Linked DNA regions of Homo sapiens: region 2 is linked to region 1. The links are contacts of gene promoters, found by promoter capture Hi-C in blood cells and fetal thymus (Javierre and others, 2016). All regions are on one chromosome and are shown on one strand. Each heading gives the region's core, a stretch centred on a gene start or on the middle of the fragment in contact. The rest is flanking DNA. Distances are from core to core; before and after follow the strand shown. Region 1 holds the start of PIK3R4 (phosphoinositide-3-kinase regulatory subunit 4). Region 2 holds the start of TOPBP1 (DNA topoisomerase II binding protein 1).

Region 1 (3,968 bases), core at 957-3,456:
CATTTTGTGTTTCAAAGAATACTATCAAAAAAGTGAAAAGACAACAGAGAGAAAATATTTGCAAATAATATCTCCAACAAGGGATTTGTATCTAGAATATATAAAGAATGCTTACAACTCAATAATAAAAAGACAAATAAACCAATTAAAAAATAGTCAAATCATAAACATTTCTTCAAAGAAGATATATGAATAGAAAACAAGCACAATAAGAAAGATGCTTAACGGAATTGGTTATTAGGGAAATACAAATTAAAGCAACAATGAGATACCACTTAACAGCCACCAGGATAATAAAAAAAGAAGATAATAACAGTGTCAGCAAGAATGTGGAGAAATTAGAGCCCTCATATATTGCTAATGGGAATGTAAAATGGTGCCTGCACTTTGGAAAACAGTTTGGCAGTTTCTCAAATGTTAAACATAGAGCTACCATATGAGCCCACAATTTCGTTCCTCAGTATCTATCCAACAGAAATGAAAACATATGGCAACACAAAGACTTATAGACTAATGCTATGAACATAGGAACATTATTCATAATAACGTAAAAGTAAAACAACTCAAATGTCTATTAACTAACAAAAGGGTAAACAAAATTATTTGCAACAACAAATAAATGAAGTACTAATACAAGCTACAATAGGGATAATCCTCAAAAACATTACCCAAAGTGAAAGTCAGTCACAAAGACCACATATTATATATAAAATGTCCAGAAAAGGCAAGTGTATACAAACAGAAAGTAGATTAATGATTGCCTAGGGCTGGAAGGGGGAGGAGAAATGGGGGAGAACAGGGAGTGACTCCGAATGGTTTCAGGGTTTCCTTTTGGGGTAATGAAAATGTTTAAAATCAGGCAGGCTGGGCGCGGTGGCTCATACCTGTAATCCCAGCACTTTGGGAGGTCGAGGCGGCGGATCACTTGAGGTCAGGAGATCCAGACCATCCTGGCCAACATGGTGAAACCCCATCTCTACAAACAATACAAAAACTAGCGGCCGGGCGCGGTGGCTCACGCCTGTAATCCCAGCACTTTGAGAGGCCGGGTGGATCACGAGGTCAGGAGATCGAGACCACGGCGAAACCCCGTCTCTACTAAAAAAAAAATACAAAAAATTAGCCCGGCGCGGTGGCGGGCGCCTATAGTCCTAGCTACTCGGGAGGCTGAGGCAGAAGAATGGCGTGAACCCGGGAGGCGGAGCTTGCAGTGAGCCGAGATCGCGCCACTGCACTCCAGCCTGGGCGACAAGAGCGAGACTCCGTCTCAAAAAAAAAAAAAACAAAAACCTAGCTGGGCGTGGTGGCACGTGCCTGTGGTCCCAGCTACTCTGGAGGCAGAGGCATGAGAATCGCTTGAACCCGGGAGGTGGAGTTTGCAGTAAGCCGAGATGGCACCACTGCATTCCAGCCTGGGTGACAGAGCCAGACTGTCTCCAAAAGAAAAAAAAAAAGGCCGGGCGCGGCGGCTCACGCCTGTAATCCCAACACTTTGGGAGGCTGAGGCAGGCGGATCACGAGGTCAGGAGATCGAGACCAACCTGGCTAACACGGTGAAACCCCGCCTCTACTAAAAATACAAAAAAATTAGCCGGGCGTGGTGGCGGGCGCCTGTAGTCTCAGCTACTCGGGAGGCTGAGGCAGGAGAATCGCTTGAACCCGGGAGGTGGAGGTTGCAGTAAGCCGAGATCGCTCCACTGCACTCCAGCCTGGGCGACAGAACGAGACTCAGCCTCAAAAAAAAAAAAAAAAAAAAAAAAAAAAAAAAAAAAAAAAAAAAAAATTAAAATCAGATTATAGGGATGATTGCACAACTCGATAGATGTATTAAAAACTACTGCTTTGTACATTTTAAGCAGGTGAACTTTATGGTATGTAAGTTATATCTCACCAGAACTCTAAAAATCCAGCTTGGGATATATTAGTTTTCCTAAATATTCTTGAGTTCTCTTAACTCTGTTCTGCTGTCCTGGGAGTGAAGGCGTGTCTGAGCAGATTCTAGGGGATGTCAGAAACCTCAGCGTTCGTGAATGAAAGGTAGAAGAGCAGGAAGGGGAATAGATCTTTGTCAGAGCATCATTTTCTCCCTGTAGACTCGCCCAAAGTAAGACCACGCCTTCCCTAGTTTCCTAGCAACCGGTTTCCTACCCTGGCAATTCCTCAAGGCTCACTCTTTTTCGTCACTTCCGCTCGGCGACAGGAAGTGAGGTCAGACCGGTTGCTTTCCCGGGAGTTCGGCGTTTGCTGGGGCTGCAGCAGCTGAAGTGTAGTGTTTTCTTGGGACTGGCGGTCTGCACTTCTCTCCCGGGTTCCATCTCCCCCCGCCCGGTGGTGAGGCCCTCGAGGAGGGCTCGGACGGGTGTAGCGATCCGCGCTAGAGGAAGACGAGGCCCGGGAACGCATGTCCCCCAGGGCAGGTTAGGGGGCTGGAGGGGTCAAATCCCGGGGTACTTGTGGAGACTCTTTAGCGTGGCTTCTTCTCTCTGCTGAGACCCCGAGAGCTTTCCCAGTTCTCCTCCCAGGACCACCGGGGTTCCTGAAGATCGGGACTTTTCTGCGCCCCTCCACCAACAGCCCATCTCCTGTCTATGAAGAAAGACCCTTCGTAGAAACAACTTCCCCGCTGCTGACGCGTTTTCCCGTCCCGTCCCCGAAGTAGTCTACTATGACCTCGTTGTGAGCCTCTGAACGATTTTGACACTTTCCCGAGGCCTAGGGTAAATGTTTATGTGTGCTCAAGGTCGTGTGTGTATATGTGTGGCATTTATTTCCTGCAAAACCTGAGTTAGCAGAACCCTGGGGTACGTTTAGCTAGTGTATACTTTGGTCTGCTTTTCTTTAACATCTGTGGCAAGGTTTCTTGTTGCAGACCAGCGAAGTTTGCACCTTCTTTTAGCTGGGTGAGAGGGCACACTGGAATTAGGCAGGAAGTGTCCAGGAGTTAACTGAATTTTTAGATCTTAGTTTGACCTTTTCAGTTTTCAGTTTTTCTTTTTTTTTTTTTATTTTTTGAGACGGACGGAGTCTCGCTCTGTCACCCAGGCTGGAGTGCGGTGGCGGGATCTCCACTCACTGCAACCTCTGCGTCCTGGGTTCAAGCAATTCTGCGTCAGCCTCACGAGTAGCTGGGATTACAGGCACCCACTACCACGCCCGGCTAATTTTTGTATTTTTAGTAGAGACGGGATTTTAACCATGTTGGCCAGCCCCGTCTTGAGCTCCTGACCTCGTGATCCTCCCGCCTCGGCCTCCCGAAGTGCTGGGATTACAGGCGTGAGCCACCGCGCCCGGCCAGTTTTAAGCTTTTAATGTGTCTCTTTCTTATTTCCAAGAAACTACAGATTCTTGGACAAGAACTATGTCATATGGTAACTTTGTAATTCTCATAGCCCCAAGCACAGCACGGAACACATAGTAAAGGCTCATTAATATTTTAAATTTAAATATGAGAAAATAACACAAACTAACATTTTTGGCTTAAAGTTGAAGAGGCCTATCTAAATATAGTTCAGCTCCTGGAAATGGCGATGCGCAATAGCAGGGTATTTTTAGGTAAAATAACAAGGTCTTCTTGGAGAAAATAACATGGTCTTTTTAGATAAATGTGTGTGAAATTTAGAGGCTGCCCCAGAAGGCTAGGTACAGTGCTGTTAGTGGAAGAGAAGTATGCTGCATCTGTCTTTTTGGAAGAGACCAAATAATGGAATAATGGTGTTTCACAGCTTCTTTGTTTCTTGTCTTTTTTCTTCATTTGTTTTTATTTTAAACAGGTATTATATCCTAACCTTACTAAAGACCACAGAGGTGCTTGCCATTATGGGAAATCAGCTTGCTGGCATTGCTCCCTCCCAGATCCTTTCTGTAGAGAGTTATTTTTCAGATATTCATGACTTTGAATATGATAAAAGCCTGGGGAGTACTCGGTTTTTTAAAGTTGCTCGAGCCAAGCACCGAGAAGGCCTGGTCGT
Region 2 (3,968 bases), core at 388-2,887, 2.9 Mb before region 1:
TGTTAACTGTAAAGTGCCCTAGAAATATTAATTGTTATTACAGATTCAGGTCAGATTTGCACCTTAACAATTAACTGTGGTTTCTTTTTTTTCCCACCTCTAGTGATTTTTGTTTTTTTGCTTTTAAGGCTTTCTTCACCCTTCCCCCAGCAATAGGCCTTTACCTTTGAGCCCCAGTGTTAATTGATTCTGACTCATTTCTGGTAAAAAAAAAAAAAAAAAAAAATTAATGATATTTATTAAAGCACAGTAAGACAGATTTTATTCCGGACCATCAGGATAGGTATAGCAACCATGGCAATGGGATTCTGAATTAGGAGAGAGAGAGTGGGCTCAACTCTAAATACACCATGGGCAAGTGGGAATTTATAGCCAAGGAACAAAAAGCTTGGGGTCACTGGATAAAAAATTACTAAGAAGGAACTTCAGGAGTAAAGGGGTTTCTTGCTGAAAATAGGTCAAGGTGATCAGACATCACCTTGGATGGTAGAGGATGAGGAACCTGATCAGATATTGAGGGTAGAGGGTTCTAACTGGATTTTCCAAGGAAATGCACAGATAAACCTACGAGAAGGTTGAGGAGTCTGACTAAAGTTTGGCCAAGCAAAGAATCTTTGTCACCTTCCATCGGTGTATTCAAAAACTTAAGACTCAAGCTGCTCATTACTATCTTTAGGCTCTAAAAAGAAAAGAAAAACAAAAACAATCAAGGGACATGGCATTATACTTTTACATTAGTAAATCCAAAGTCATTTTCTCAATCTCAGCAGTGAATAATAAAATGATCCTCATTAGTATAGTGGCTAGATTTTATAAAATAAGAAAAAATTTTTTTAAAAAAGAATAAAATGAAAAGAAGCAACAACGAATCAGTTTTCCGCTGGTTATCACTAAGGTTTGCAGGCCCATCTTATCCCCTCTCCCTTTGCTCTCTGCCATCTGAATCTTAGGTTCAGTCCCAGAATCTCCCCAGTACTGAGGCAGATGCAGAGAAAGAGAACGGCGATGTCCACTGAAGGGGAGGAGGAGGGGAGACCATTGAAGATCTTGACAAAGATCCCTTTGCATTAGCTGTGTAATAAGTCATCCTTTCTTCCCTTGCCATCTTGTGGCTGTGTTAGGCGGTGATTCTATTCCTGCTGTGTTGGAGGGAAACCACCCAGTCCGTAGTCAGAAGACCTGGATGCAGTATTAATTCTACCACCTACTAGCCGTGTGCCCTTGAACCCATCATTTAACTTCCTCCGTTTTTACATCTACAAAATGGAACTACCACTATTTGCCTCACGGAATTGTTTTGGATAATACCTTTTCCCGTGCATGCCTGGTATAAGACAGGTGTAAAATAAATATCTATTGAGGAAATCCTTTCTTTCCCTGGCTTTTTTAACAGTAAAGGAGTATTCCTGGCCTGTGGTCCTACCTCTTGAACCGACGGCGCTGGGCCTACTCGCAGCGGAGACTAGGCCCGCCCAGCAAAGCCCTAAACCCAAAGGGTCCGGCCCAAGCTTTCCCTGAAGCCCCACCGCCCACAGACTGCTCACCTCCACGTTTGACATTTCCGCTCTTCTGCTGCAGCTGCCGATGGCGTCACTTCCACCGGAAAAGGCAAGCGCGGCCGCGCGGTTGGCGCGAAAGTCGGTTCCCGTTCTGGGCAATTTCCGGGTTCTCCAGCGTTTGCTTTGGGGTAGGGGCGGCGCCGAGTCGGGGGAGGGGGCTGTGCGCCGGGCTGGCGCCCGACCCCAGCCACCGCCCTGCGGCCAGCGCGTCCCCCGACTCGCCGCCCGGAGACCCCGAGGCTCCAACGAGGTAAGTGAGGCGCGGAGTGGGGACACAGCTCCTCCCCAGCCCCAACTGGGGTTCGCGATGCCTTCTGTGGCCTTCAGGACCCTCTTTTCCTGTCCTGGTAACTGGCCCTGGAGCCGGCGGGTGGGCCTTTGACGCCGAGAGGACGTGGCTTCCGTGATCCCAGAGCCAGGCCTTTTCCTGGAGATGGGAACCGGAGCATCTAGCCTTATGCAGGGCCAAGACCATGCTAACTGGCTTCCATGTTTATATTTAAAATCTGTTTACTGAGGGATGAACGTACCTCGCAGGCCGTGGGTATCCGCAGGGACAGATACACTCTGTGTATCCTTAAAACAAGTGCAATTGAATGTCCATTGGCCTAAAGGGCTTAGAGCCTTCATAGCAGGGCCTTCCTCAGTGTATTCAATTCGGGTTAATTTTGCTGTCTGATTTGCAAGGATTGGTGTTGTCATCTTTTACCTTGGCTTTGTCCAAGTTCCAGGATTTCTTAGAAATGCCGTTGACGAATTCACGGGCAGAGCCAGAATGTCTGTCTTTAGGCATTCTTGTCTGCACAGAAAAATAGGTAGGTTAAACATGCAACTTTTTATCTAATGTGGTTTTGTTCTTGTTAATGGTTCCTTTATTTTGACAGTTCAGAAATGTCCAGAAATGACAAAGAACCGTTTTTTGTGAAGTTTTTAAAGTCTTCAGACAATTCCAAATGTTTTTTTAAAGCTCTCGAGGTAAGAGTTGAAAACATCTTAATACCGTGAATTCATTTTCTTGTTTTTAAGTGTTTTTGATTTGTTGGGCTTTATGTCTTAGAAGTAGATATTTCACTTTCATAATAATTTTATAGTCTACATTAATACAGATATATCATTATCACATATTTTTGAATTGATCTAAGTACATCATTATGTATTTCGGGGGGCTGGAAGTCTATTATCACATTGCTGTTTAATATGGCTGACCTACAGTTCTTGGAAATTAAGTTGCTTTCATTTGTCTCCTAGCCAGAGTGGTCCTTTGCGTGCTGTAGAAATTTGAGTCAGTTGTGTACTGGTCATACTTGAAAATTTTTTGGTTAATTGTTAAAAATTATGTTTTATTATGTACAGTATAATAATTGGATGATAGTAGGGGTGATGTAGATCCTTGCTTCTCACAGAACCCAGCAGTATCAGCATGGCCTGGAAGTTTCTTCGAAATGCAGAATCTTGGCCTCCAACCCAGACTTAGAATCTGCATTTCTAACAAGATCTTCAGTGTGCATTAAAGTTTGAGAAGCATTTGTAGCAGATTTTTTTAAACTTCATTCATTCAGCAAGTATTTATTGAAGTGTTCATGATTTGATAGGCACTTCTCTAGTACTTGGGATTTATCAGTGATGAGAACAGGCAAAGATTTCTGTTCTTTCAGAGCTTACATTCTAGCAGGAGGACATAGACACTAATCAGACATGATAAATTAGGAAGAGAAAAAAGCAAAACACGTTAAGGGGTTCCAGAGGATGTTTCTTGGGGTGGGAAGAGAAGGGGGTTATAATCTTAAATAGGGTGTGATCAGGGTAGGCTTTATGAAGAAAAAGATATTGAGTAAACGTGAAGGAGGTGAGATAGCCTTGCAGATATCTGGAGAAGAATGTTGCAGGCAGAGAGAGCAACCTTATACAGCCCCTGGGAAAGTGCCTGTAGTCTCTATCCAAGTTTAGTGTACTGTTGTGTAGTGAGTGAGGGATGGGGGAAGAGTACTAAGGAATGCGTTAGAGAATAATGGTAAAGAGGTCATGTAGGGCCTTGTGGGCCATTTTTCTCTCAGTGGAGAGCCATTGGAGGGTTGATAATCAGAAGAGTAAACATGATCTGACTTACAGTTTTAAAGGGATTACTGTATTTAACATAAGGACCTCAAAATTGGTTCAGAACATTTCTGAGTGCTTACTGGGTGTCAGGATATAGTAGCAAACAAGATACATAGAAACTTCCAGGGGAGAGAGACAAAAACTATATATATATATATAAATACGTATTTTTAAATAGAATAGACTAGAAGGGTAGAGGAAGGGTATTTGAGAAAGCCTGATTAGGATGGGCATCTCTGGGGAGGTGACATTTAAGCAGACCTGATTGAAGTGGGGGATTAAGTCAGGTGAAAACCTGGAAAAAAAGTATTC

The links. Contacts are between HindIII fragments. The CHiCAGO score rates a contact against its expected background, and 5 or more counts as called.
Region 2: a contact is called between the fragment with the promoter of TOPBP1 here and the fragment with the promoter of PIK3R4 in region 1, in 3 of 17 cell types (total B cells, activated CD4 T cells and naive CD8 T cells). The highest score is 7.7, in total B cells.

What each region holds. Positions count from the first base shown.
Region 1 is chr3:130,745,067-130,749,034 of GRCh38, reverse strand. PIK3R4 (phosphoinositide-3-kinase regulatory subunit 4) reads left to right here and starts at 2,206. Exons shown (of 20, transcript NM_014602.3): 1 at 2,206-2,717; 2 at 3,771-3,968. The coding sequence starts at 3,817. RefSeq lists a silencer at 1,182-1,231 and an enhancer at 2,466-2,525. The HindIII fragment of the contact is 4,673 bases long and covers 1-3,304 here.
Region 2 is chr3:133,659,610-133,663,577 of GRCh38, reverse strand. TOPBP1 (DNA topoisomerase II binding protein 1) reads left to right here and starts at 1,637. Exons shown (of 28, transcript NM_007027.4): 1 at 1,637-1,809; 2 at 2,444-2,534. The coding sequence starts at 2,451. It overlaps LOC124909487, which reads right to left and starts at 2,352. Exons shown (of 3, transcript XM_047449438.1): 1 at 2,232-2,352; 2 at 1,545-2,065; 3 at 240-679. The coding sequence starts at 2,352. The coding sequence ends at 530. It also overlaps a transcript of TF not described here. RefSeq lists an enhancer at 1,211-1,280 and a silencer at 1,681-1,850. The HindIII fragment of the contact is 9,162 bases long and covers 1,511-3,968 here.